2 separate regions of the Homo sapiens genome follow, and region 1 is linked to region 2. The links are contacts of gene promoters, found by promoter capture Hi-C in blood cells and fetal thymus (Javierre and others, 2016). All regions are on one chromosome and are shown on one strand. The core of a region is centred on a gene start or on the middle of the fragment in contact, and the rest is flanking DNA. Distances in the headings are between cores, read along the strand shown. Region 1 holds the start of TP53INP2 (tumor protein p53 inducible nuclear protein 2). Region 2 holds the start of AHCY (adenosylhomocysteinase).

Region 1 (6,199 bases), core at 1,724-4,223, 400 kb before region 2:
ATATGAAGTGTAAAGATGGCATGCCGGCAGGCCCTCCCCCCTCTGACCCCCTTTTCCCAGGCTCCTGTTCAAGGGCAGCATCCAGGGGTAGGAGGAAGATCAGGTTGCTTGGGCTCAGTGAGACAGCAGGTCAGTGGGAGGTGATGATGAAGGGAGGGAGCTGTCAGTTCCCAGGAGCCCTTAAGGATGAGCACTGAGGGTTGGACCCAGACCGAGGTAAGCCCTTAACCAATCCTTCCCTGGGTGAAGATGAAGAGGGAGGCCCCCTACTGCAGAAATGGAAACACCAAGGTGGTAGCTCTAGATCTACCCCCTCCCCATGCCAGCCTACCTCAGGACTAGAGCTTGGCTGGGGGCTGCTGGCCATACTCCCCCAGTACCTGAAGCCTGACTGACTCTCCACACCTGTTCCCTAAAGATGCTCAACGGTTTTGCTGCTGAGACACTTGTCACCATTCTCTAAGGGTGTTTCCACACTTCCTGTAGAACTTCCTGGGGGCATGTCCAGACTTCCCTGAAGGCATTTCTCCTCTTTCTGCTAATCCACCTGCAGTATTGCCATGCTTATTGCTACCTCCCCCATTCCCTAGAAATGTTTTCACACTTGCTGCAGAATCACCTCACTTCCATACCCTGAGAATATTTCCACATCTGCAGACTCACAGTAGGCTTAAGATGCTGGCTTCTCTGGTGGGATGGGGGTGGGAGATCTACAGGGATTAAGAAGGTGGGGCCACCCCCAACTAGTGTCCACCCAGCACAATTCATGTATCCCAACCCATATGTAGCCACAGGGAGCTAGTGACTCCATTACCAAAAGCCCAGAAAGTTTGGCCCCTCTTGAAGGAAGGGAATATCGAGGCCTTGATGAGGCACATCCTCCTTCCAAGAACCTACTAATTCATGGAATATGAAAGAGAAGTTAAGAGCTGTTTCAGGGACCATCATATTCACCCAGCCCATTTTAAAATCTGATGATCAGAAAGAAGACATAAATCTATCCAAAAATACATGGCTAGATAGTGGCAGGGCAGACCTAGTCCCACGTTACTGTGCATCCAGTCCAGAGTGTACACAGTCAGGAAAGACTCAGCAAACAATCCCCAAGAATACAATGATGCAGGGGTACAGGGAGGTGAAAAAGACCTTGACCTAGCCACACCACCCCTCGCCTAGCTACAAAAGGGTCTGGGGTTACTGGCACCAAGATTTAGCATGCATTTACTGAAGACCCACTGTGTACCAGAGCCTGCACTGTGCCTCCCCAAATTTCAGATAGGTTTAGGGGAGGGAGGCTCAGGGGAAAAGCTCCCTGCCTGAGGTCACACAGCAAGTCAGTGACAGCCAGGAGTGAAAGCAGTCACCAGCCAGCCAGTGCCTGCCCCCTCTCCTGACCACTTGGGGAGCCTCCCAGATTTCCTTTCCCAGCCCTGCCAGCTTCCTGGTTCTCACATTCCCAGTTCTGCTCCAGGGAGAACCATTCCCTTTAATAACTACAGCAGCTCTGCCCAGAATAGCATTTGTGCCCTAAGCCACCCCTACCCCCAGCCCATCCTTGAGCAAACTCCCAGCAGGAATGGAGTTCCTGGTTCAGCCTCTAGGCCCATCCACTTGTTAAGTCAGAAACTCTCCTTATCCTATCCCTTCTCCTATACTCTCTGTGGGCAGAGGTGACGAGGGAGCAGCAAAACACCTGCAATTGTCTGCACTAGGCCAGGTCAGGCCCTTCCTAGCTGACGACCTAGGAAGTTGGGAAGGTAAAGGGCCAATAGAGGGAACCCTCACCCCACCCTCCACCCCAACATCAGCCCTGGAGACACCCCGAGGCAGCCAATGACTCACCTCTCTGTGATCCAAACAGCTGGGAGGCAGCGATTTTATTGGACTCTAGGACTTCAAGGTACAGTGAGGACAGAAGGGGTCAGGACCACAAAAGGTGAACCAATCTCCAGAGATTCCCTGGAAAAGGGTCCAGGAGTAAGGACACCTAGGAGCCTATCAAACCGTGATAAGGCTGAGCCCAAGATCGGGTCCCCAGTGGAAGGAGGATGTGTATCTTACCACTTGTACTGAGCCCCTATTATGTCTTTGCCCCTGGCTAATAATCCATCTGTCACTCAGTGAGCATGACTCTAATTGGTTATGTGACCTCGAGAGAGCTAATCCTCCTCTCTGGGCCTGTTGCCCCTTCCATGCACTGGGGTCTAAGACCCTTCATTTTGGGTCTAGGAGTGACATCAGCTAAGGCGCTGCACACAAATCAGGGATTAGGAGGATGTTATTCTGTTAGTCCCTGGGGGCGGAGTCTGGAGCCGGAGGGAGGGGATCCCACCACCATCTGGTGCTGTCCCAACCACCTGGAGTCCCATGCAGCCCTGAACTCCTGACGACCCCCTCAACCTAGGCCCAGCAGCGCCGTCTGACTCCTTCTCAGGTTGCAAAGAGAAAGTAGGGGATCAGAGGCCTGACCCCAGCCCCTGGATAAGCCTAGGAAATCGCCGATCCCCCTGCAGCCCCCTTTGGATTGCAGCGTCTCACCCAGGGCCCAGCCCCGACACAGCGGCTACCGGGTCACGGGAGGACAAGCGACCCGAGCCTGTGGGGGCGGTACCGGCCTTGGTGACGTCTCAATGTCATATGCAAATAGAACGACGTCATGGTCTACCGGGCGTGCGGCAACCAATCGGGAGCCGGGAACGCGGCCCCGGCGGCCGCCGGCGGAGACAGACAAAGGCCCGGGCGCGGGGGGCGCAGGGCGTGTCCGTGGCAGGGGAGCCCCCAGGCCCACCCGGGTCGGGACTCACCTGGGGGCGGGAGGGGGGCGGCACGGCGTTGAGGTAGTTGTGCGGCGGGGCGTCCCAGGGTCGCCGGCCGCTCACAGGCCGGGCCGCATCGCCGGGACTCGCGGGGGAGGCGGCGGGGCCGCGGTCGCTCCGGGCTGCTGAGCTCGCCCGCGGGGCTTTGAGTCTGTGCGGCCGCTGCGGCGGGGCTCACGGCACAAATTGGAACGTTCAAACAGCTGATTGTGACGTCACAAAGGGGCCCGCCCGCCTCGCGTCACCGGCTGGCGGGGCGGCGGCCAATCCCGGGCTGCGGATCCCCCCCTGCCCCTCCCCTCCCCTCCCCTCCCGGTTTGCGGGCCGGGCGCTCGGGCCGGGAAACGTTCTCGGAACCGGGAGGGTGAGTGTTCGGGGAGGCAGCTGCGGGGAGCTGGGAGCCCTGCGCCGCGGCGAGCTCTCCGCGAGGAGGATCTCCACTCCCTCCTACCGGCTCCTTATTTTCCTGATTCTTCCCGGATCGCAGCGCCCTCACCTCTCCCACTGCTCCCCAAATCCTTTCACTGCATCCTATATCCAAGTCCCCCGATGCGGACCCTGTTCTCGACCCACACCACGTCCGTGCACCTGCATTCTCCCCACTGCCCTTATTCCTGCTCTCCCTCCCCCCTCTGGCTCACCTCCTCAGCCTTACACACTCTGCTTTCCCACCCCGTTTTTCCTCAGCTCGGCGGGCTTGAGAAAAGAGGGACATCCCCAACCCCCGGTTCCCGGGGAGCATCTGGGAATGTAGAGAAGTTAGTGAAGCTGACGTGAAATTTCGCAGAGTAGGACTTGGAGAGGAATTGCCCTGGGCTGAGTAAACATTGACCTGAGACGGCTCCGCGCTTGAACGTTTACATACCTTATTTAATCTATGTTGCTACCGGGGCTGTAAAGAAGTGGCAGGACAGGGACTGATTATGAGTCCTGATTTACACGTGGGAAAGCTGAGTCTCACAATCTCACTGTTAGCGTGTGAACTCATGTTCAACAATGCATTCAACATTTATTAGGCACCTACTATTGCACCACCATACCACTAGCTGACATGTATTGGCACACTTACTGTGTGCCACGACCTGTGCTATGGGTGTGTTTTTTTATCTTCACAACAACCCAAAAGGTAGATATTGTCCCGTTTAACAGTTGAGGAAACAGACTCAGAGAGCTCAAGTGACTTTCTTAGGTCACAAAAGTACAGTCAATGGCAGAGCCAGGATTTGAACCCATAGCTCCCAGCCCTGACCCTCTCCATTCTCTACATGAACCAGATGGTCTAAACCTCAGGGCGCTTTAGCCTCCCCAGAGTCCTGGCTTTCAGTCCTGACTGTGCCCTAGACTTGCTGTGTGACCTCAAGTCATGTTACCTCTCTGGGTCTCAGTTTGTCAAACAAACATATCCAGGCTTCCCTCTAGAGCTGCCATTGTAAGATTCTTCCACACTCTCTGCCCTCAGGATTCCACCCACCCCACGCTCTAGGCCCCAGCTCTCCCAGTGGCCTGGGAGATGCCCGAGAAGAGACCACAAATACACATATCAGAATCTCCAGGGCCAGAGGTTCTAGGTCAGCAGAGCAGGGCTGGTGGGGGAGGGTCCGAGAACTGCCCACCTAGCCCAAAAGGAGGCCGGAGGTGACCTAGGCCAGAGGTTAATGATCTAGTGATAAAACTTTTTTTTTTTTTTTGAGACGGAGTCTCGCTCTTGTTGCCCAGGCTGCAGTGCAGTGGCACGATCTCGGCTCACTGCAAGCTCCGCCTTCCGGGTTCACGCCATTCTCCTGCCTCAGCCTCCCGAGTAGCTGGGACTACAGGCGCCCGCTACCACGCCCGGCTAATTTTTTGTATTTTTTGTATTTTTGTATGTTTAGTGTTAGCCAGGATGGTCTCGGTCTCCTGACCTTGTGATCTGCCTGCCTCGGCCTCCCAAAGTGCTGGGATTACAGGCGTGAGCCACCGTGCCCGGCACTCTAGTGATAAAACTCTATCCCAGCCTCATCTGAAACCCCCAAGGGACTCCTTAACCCTAGCGACAGGGGAAGAAGCCAGAAAAAAATAACCCAAGGCTGAGGGGTGGAGAGGGGAGTGGCATTGTGGCCCTTGGAGTGTTATACCCAAAGTGTCCTCATTCCATGCAACTCTGAGCCTCTGCCCATCACAGCCACTTCCTGCTAACCTCATACCCTTTCAGACCTACTTGCTGACTTTAATTAAATAATCCCTAACACGTCTCTCCTGTCAAGCCACTTGTTTGTTCTAAAACCTGATGTGGCTCCTAAAGCCCCACACTCCTAACACAGAACTCATGCCCCCCATGCTCCGGCCCCAGTTCTCTCCAGCTTCACCTCCCCTTCTCCTACACGCATCTTGTGCTAAAGTCAAACTCCTTGTTGACTCTACAGCACTCTCCCACCTCCACCCTTTTGCTCAAGCTGTTTCCCCTGCCTGGAATGCCTTCTTCAGAACTTTCTGAAATCCAGATCTTTCCTGTCTTCAAGATTCTACTTGGCCAGGTGTGGTGGCTCACAGCCATAATCCCAGCACTTTGGGAGGCCAAGGCAGGAGGATTGCTTGGGGCCAGGAGTTTGAGACCAGCCTGGCCAATATAGCGAGACCACTTATCTGCAAAAAATGAGAAAATTAGCCAGATGCCATGCACCTGTAGTCCCAGCTGCTTAGGGAGGCTGAAATAAGAAGATCACTTGGGTTTAGGTTACAATGAGCTATGATCAAGCCACTGCATTCCAGCTTGGATGACAGAGCCAGACCCTGTCTCTTAAAAAAGAGAGAGAGAGGGAGAGATTCTACTCACCCTTTCTTCCTCTAGGTAGCCTTCCTTGTCCCTACCCACGAGTTGATGGCTACCTTGATGGACGTTTATTTGTCCATAAACAGTAAGTGATGATGACTCATTGTATGTGTATGTGTCTTCTCAAGTGGATGGTTGGCATCCCAAGGGCAGAGTCTTTGTCCCTATACTGCCCGCACCCAGCTTGTGGGGGTCTGGCATAGAGTAGACTTTCATCACAGGCTCAGTAGTTATAGCTTGAAGCTTAAGAAGGGTGGCTGGGGGCTGGGCACGGTGGCTCACGCCTGTAATCCCAGCACTTTGGGAGGCTGAGGCGGGCGGATCACGAGGTCAGGAGATTGAAACCATTCTGGCTAACACGGTGAAACCCCGCCTCTACTAAAAATACAAAAAATTAGCCAGGCGTGGTGGCGGGCGCCTGTAGTCCCAGCTACTCGGGAGGCTGAGGCAGGAGAATGGCGTGAACCGGGGAGGCGGAGCTTGCAGTGAGCAGAGATCGTGCCACTGCACTCCAGCCTGGGCGACAGAGTGAGACTCCATCTCAAAAAAAAAAAAAAAAAAAAAAGAAGGGTGG
Region 2 (6,392 bases), core at 3,631-6,130:
TAGCAAAGACATAGAGTCAACCTAAATTCCCATTAATGGTAGACTGGATAAAGAAAACGTGGTACATATACACCATGGAATACTATGCATGCATAAAAAAGAACAAGATCATGTCCTTTGCAGGAACATAGATGCAACTGGAGGCCATTATCCTTAACAAACTAACCCAGGAACAGAAAACCAAATACAGCATGTTCTCACTTATAAGTGGAAGCTAAATAATGAAAACACATCAACAGAGAGAGGGAACAATGGACATGGGCCCTATTTGAGGGATGAGGGTGAGAAAAGGGAGAGGTTTAGAAAAAAAAAAACTTAGGTGCTGTGCTTCGTACCCAGGTGATGAAATAATCTGTACACCAAACCCCCAACTCACCAGTTTACCTATGTACCAAACTGGCACAGGTACCCCTGAACTAAAATAAAAGTTAAAAAATTTTTTTAATTTAATGGGTGACAAAACTTTGCCATACACTCACCAACAATGAACATTATCATTTGTAATTAAACCTTTTATTTTGAGATAATTGTAGATTCATGTGCAGTTGTAAGAAAACACAGGGGGCTGGGCACGGTGGCTCACGCCTGTAATCCCAATACTTTGGGAAGCCAGGGCGGGCGGATCACCCGAGGTCAGGAGTTCGAGACCAGCCTGACCAACATGGAGAAACCCCATCTCTACTAAAAATACAAAATTAGCTGGACACGGTGGCATGTGCCTGTAATCCCAGCTGCTCAGGAGGCTGAGGCATGAGAATTGCTTGAACTTGGGAGGAGGAGGTTGCAGTGAGCCAAGATTTTGCCATTGCATTCCAGCCTGGGCAACAAGAGCGAAACTCCGACAAAAAAAACAAAAAACAAAAAACAAAAAAACCTCAGCATGTTGGGAGGCTGAAGCAGGTGGATCATTTGAGGTCAGAGGTTCAAGACCAGCCTGGCCAACATGGCGAAAGCCCATCTCTACTAAAAATATAAATATTAGCCGGGTGGTAGCGACATGCACCTGTAATCCCAGCTACTCAGGAGGCTGAGGCAGGAGAATGGCTTGAGCCTGGGAGAGGTGGAGGTTGCTGTGAGCCTAGATAGCAGACCCTGTCTCAAAAAAAAAAAAAAAGAAAAAGAAAAAAGAAACAAAGAAAACACAGAGAAATCCCAATGCCCTTTGCTCGCTTTCTCCCAATGGTGACATCTTGCAAAACCATAATAAAACATCTCAACTAGGATACTGACAATGATAAAGCAAGATCCAGAACATTCCATCACCACAAAGTTTCCTCATGTTGCCCTTTTACAGCCACATTTACCTCTCTCTTGCTCCCGTCCCCTACCTAATACCTGGCAACCACTAATCTGTGGTTCATTTCTATAATTTGGTCATTTCAAGAATATTATAGAAATGAAATAATATACTATGTAATATATTGGAATTGGTTTTTGTCACTCAGCATAATTCTCTAAGGATTCATCCAGGTTGCTGCATTTATCAAAGTTTATTCCTTTTGCTGAGTATTATTTCATGGTATGGCTGTACCAATTTGTTTAACTGTTCATCCATTAAAAGAACCTGGCTGGGCGTGGTGGCTTACACCTGTAATCCCAGCACTTTGGAAGGCCAAGGCGGGAGGATCACTTGATGTCAGAAGTTCAAGACCAGTCTGGCCAACATGGTGAAACACCGTCTCTATTAAAAATACAAAAATTATCCGGGTGTGGGAGCGTGTGCCTGTAATCCCAGGTACTTGGGAGGCTAAGGTACGAGAATCACTTTGAACCTGGGAGACAGAGGTTGCAGTGAGCCGAGATCACACCATTGCACTCCAGCCTGGGCAACAGAGAGACACTCTTTCTCAAAAAAAAAAAAAAAGAAGCTGAAATAATAGGAAATTGGCTATATCAATTGCAATATATCCATAGGCTAGAACATTCTGCTGCTAGAGAGGTTGCATAAGGCCAGACTAAGGTGCTTAGACCTTCTCCTGAGACCAGCAGTCTCCAAAGTTTTGTTCATATGAACTTAACGGTACAAATATTAGCAAATATCTCATTAGCTGATATCTCAAAGCACGATATACAGTGAGGATGAGAGTCATCATTAATTAATGAGAGGGCATGTAAATTCACATTTCTTTTTTTTTCTTTTTTTTTTTTTTTTTTTGAGGCAGTCTTGTTCTGTCACCCAGGCTGGAGTGCGGTGGCGCAATCTTGGCTCAATGCAACATCCGCCTCCTGGGTTCAAACAATTCTTGTCCCTCAGCCTCCTGAGTAGCTGAGTTTACAGACGTGCACCATCACGCCCGGCTAATTTTTGTATTTTTAGTAGATACAGGGTTTCACTATGTTGGCCAGGCTGGTCTGGAACTCCTGACCCCAAGTGATCCACTCGCCCCGGCTTCCAAAGTGCTGGGATTACAGGTGTGAGTCACTGCGCCTGGTCCGTAAATTCATATTTCAAAGTGTCTTTTTCATTGTTTTCTCAAATTTTATTACATTCCTTACAACATGGCTGACAAAGACCAGCATTCATACCAGAAAGAGACCTGTCAGCTGTGTCCTTTTCTACTTGTTTGCTGTGCTGGTAATTTTCACAGTATCTGGAACTTGCCATTTCTTTGCAGGAATATTTTGAAGCCATTTTTCTGTTCTCGTAGGACAACCTAGTAACATGATCCTACGTTTAGTTAGACTGACACGACTCACTACACACTGCAATGCACTGCAGAATGCTGAAAGGGATGCGTGAGGACCCTGCTGCCCACCTCCCAGGCGTGGACCCTCGTTCCCTCAGGAAGTCTCTGCTTGACATCGGCCCTCATGACTCTCAGACAGAGGTCAGATGTACAGATCAAGTGAGACCAATACATTTACTATGTCATAGAAGACCTTAATTCTTATTTTTATTTTTTATTTTTTGAGACAAGAGTCTCCCTCCGTCGCCCAGGCCGGAGTGCAGTGGTGCGATCTCGGCTCACTGCAAGCTCGGCCTCCCGGGTTCACGCCATTCTCCTGCCTCAGCCTTGCGAGTAGCTGGGACTACAGGCTCCCGACACCACGCCCAGCTAATTTTTTTTTTTTTTTGTATTTTTAGTAGAGATGGGGTTTTACCCTGTTAGCCAGGATGGTCTCGATTTCCTGACCCCGTGATCCGCCCGCCTCGGCCTCCCAATGTGCTGGGATTACAGGCGTGAGCCACGCGCCCGGCCAGAAGAGTTTAATTCTTTTCTCATTTTTAGGTTAAAAAATGAGTAGAGGCCGGGCACGGTGGCTCACGCCAGTAATCCCAGCACTTTGGGAGGCAGAGGCTGGCGGATCACCTGAGGTCGGGAGTTCGAGATTAGCCTGACCAATATGGAGAAACCCCGTCTCTACTAAAAATACAAAATTAGCCAGGCGTGGTGGCTCATGCCTGTAATCCCAGCTACTCGGGAGGCTGAGGCAAGAGAATCGCTTGAATCCGGGAGGCAGAGGTTGGTGTGAGCCAAGATCATGCCATTGCACTCCAGCCTGGGCAACAAGCGCCAAACTCTATCTCAAAAAAAGAAAAAACAAAATTAGCCAGGTGTGGTGGTGCGTGCCTGTAATCCAAGCCACTCGGGAGGCTGAGGCAGGAGAATTGCTTGAACCCGGGAGGTGGAGGTTGCAGCGAGCCTAGATGGTGCCACTGCACTCCAGTGTGGGCGACAGAGTGAGACTCCATAAAAAAAAAAAAAAATTCAGGGGAAAAAAAGCAATTAAAAAAACATAACTATAAAAATAATACAAATTACAAAACAACCATTTGCATAGCATTTACATTATATTAGTTATAAGTAATCTAGAGATGATTAAAGTGTACGGAGGAATGTGCATAGGTTATATGCCAATACTGCCTCATTTTATATGAGGGACTTGAACATAGAAGGGTTTTGGAGTCCACAGAGGTCCTGAAACCAATTTCCCCTTCCCATGCCTGGGATGACTGAATTATACAGCAGCAAAAATGAATATACTCAAGCTATATGCATGAGTCTCATAAATATAATGCTCACAGAAAAAAGCAAGTTGCAGAAGGGTAAATACGGTTGATATATAAAGGTGCTAAACACAGAACTATTTAATGATATACGGATGCAGTAAAAGTATAAGAAATGTATGCAAACTTACTTAAATTCAGGGTGTTGGTTACTTGGAGTAAGGCGAATGTTTGGGATGTCAGTAGGTACCTGACAAATGGCAACTTAACTTTGTTTTGGTTTTTTTGAGATAGGGTCTTGCCCTTTCGCCCAGGCTCAAGTGCTGTGGTGGGATGATAGCTCACTGCAGCCTCGATCTCCAGGCTCAAAAGATCCTCCCTCCCGCCTCCGCGTCCCAAGTAGCTGGGACCACAAGCGCGCGCCACCACGCCCGGCTAATTTTTAATTTTTTTTTGTAGAGTTCAGGTCTCACTGTGTTGCCCAGGATGGTCTTGAACTCCTGGGCTCAAGCGATCCTCCCGCCTTGGCCTCCCAAAGTGCTGGGATTACAGGTGTGAGCCACCGCGCCTGGCCTGCAACTTTACTTATAATAATCTGTGTGGCAGATGTCATTTGGCCCATTTTACAGATGAGGAAATTGAGGCACAGGGAAGTGAACTGGCGGAATTTCAGTTCCGCTGGGTTTTGACACTGAATCAACTGGCTGAACCAGCGAGAGGACGGCCCGGCTGGCTCTCAGGCCTCTCCCGGCGCTCCCTTCCGGACCGGTGAGTGAGACTCCTGGGGCCACGCCTTGTGAAATTCTGAGGCTTCTTTTCAGGGATCGAAATCCCCTCCGGCTCCGCCCTGCGCGTTGGGCCCCGCCCCAGCGGGTCATGAATATGCAAGTGCGAGGAAGATATTTAAAGGCGTCGGCGCCACGCGCATATCCCTGCTCGGCGCTGCCCGCCCAGTTCCTGTTCCCAGACTGAGGCCCAGCCCCCTTCGCCCGTTTCCATCACGAGTGCCGCCAGCATGTCTGACAAACTGCCCTACAAAGTCGGTGAGTCCCAGGACCTGCAGCCGGTTGCGGCCGCCCGGCACCCGCCCGGGGCTTGTTCGTGGCGGGGGCTGCAGGGCCGACTCGGGGCTCTCTGGACCCCCTGGAATCGCAGCCTCGGCGCGTTTCTGGCCGCGCGAAGCCAGCTGGAAGTTGGAGTTCTCGCGCGGCCATGAGCGGGCCGTTCCGGGTGGCCGTGGACTACAAGTCCCAGCATGCCCCGCGACGCCGGGGCCGCCGCGCGGTCTGCGAGCCGCAAACTGGCGGCGTGCTCCGCGGGAGAGCACACCTGGCCACGGCCTGGGACGGCTGGCACCTGCCGGACCCTGCTCGGGGGGCCTGCGCCCGGCCTCCTAGGCCTGGACCGGACCCTGTCCAGCTGGGCGGCCCCGACGAGCGTCCACCCCTCTCTGGGCCTCCTACAGGGACGGCGAGGGCACCCCGGAGGGTGTATGAGGAGAGGCCTGGAAAGCGAGCCCCAGGCCGGCTCCGATCCTCCTCTCCCCTGGGACTTTGGGCCAGTTACCCAACCTGTGGGGTCCCCCACCCCTCCAGCAGGGGCAGCCTTGCAGAAATCTCGAAGAAAATTTGGAGTGGTTTGAAAAATCCTGCTGTCCCACCGATTGAAGTGTAATACAGGGATAGTTAACGTTTACTTAGTGTTTCCTGTGGGATCGGCACTGCCTTCTAGCTTTATTCTAGTCTCATGGCTCTATAGGGAAACTGTTCTCATTTTATGATGAGAATCCTGAGGCAGAGGTAACTTGCCCTCAGTCTTACAGCTGGTGGTGATGGAGCAAGATTGGAACGCAGGCCATCTAGATCTCTGAGCGCACCCTTTCACCACTGTGTGCAAGCGAATACACGCGGAACAATCCTAGTGAATTTTCAGCAAAAACCAGTTCAGTTTGGCTGGTAGCTTTTCAAGTAACTTTGACACTATTGGACCGGGTGTGGTGGCTCACCCCTGTAGTCCCAGCACTTTGAGAGGCCGAGGTGGGCGAATCACTTGAGGTCAAGAGTTCGAGACCAGCCTGGCCAACGTGGTGAAACGCTATCTCTACCAAAAATACAAAAACTAGCTGGGCGTGGTGGCGGGCGCCTTCATTCCCAGCTACTCGGGAGGCTGAGGCAGGAGGACTGTTTGAGCCGGGGAGACGGAGGTTGCAGTGAGCCGAGATTGCACCACCACGCTCCAACCTGGGCAACAGAGCAAGACCCTGTCTCAAAAAAAAAAAACAAACAAAAAAAGACACTATTAAGTCTGGAGAATGCCATCCACATTTATGGAAACACTTGCTGTATATCTGGTGATTTACGTGTGTTTACACAATAATCTTCATAGAGGTGGACGTAATCCCGTTATATAGAGCATGAAACTGAGGCCCTTGGGAGGTGACTTG

What was found. The method cuts DNA at HindIII sites, captures the fragments that hold promoters and counts their contacts. A CHiCAGO score of 5 or more calls a contact.
Region 1: the fragment with the promoter of TP53INP2 here is called in contact with the fragment with the promoter of AHCY in region 2 in 15 of 17 cell types (naive CD8 T cells, activated CD4 T cells, total CD4 T cells and 12 more); the score reaches 17.0 in naive CD8 T cells.

Annotation. Positions count from the first base shown.
Region 1 is chr20:34,701,118-34,707,316 of GRCh38, reverse strand. TP53INP2 (tumor protein p53 inducible nuclear protein 2) reads right to left here and starts at 2,973. Exons shown (of 5, transcript NM_021202.3): 1 at 2,805-2,973; 2 at 1,843-1,959. LOC105372599 (a long non-coding RNA gene) reads left to right here and starts at 3,135. Exons shown (of 2, transcript XR_936690.3): 1 at 3,135-3,180; 2 at 3,504-3,658. RefSeq lists a silencer at 2,698-3,177. The HindIII fragment of the contact is 9,202 bases long and covers 1-5,870 here.
Region 2 is chr20:34,301,843-34,308,234 of GRCh38, reverse strand. It overlaps AHCY (adenosylhomocysteinase), which reads left to right and starts at 4,880. Exons shown (of 10, transcript NM_000687.4): 1 at 4,880-4,992. The coding sequence starts at 4,965. RefSeq lists enhancers at 4,516-4,635, 4,656-4,705 and a silencer at 5,276-5,505. The HindIII fragment of the contact is 32,031 bases long and covers 1-6,392 here.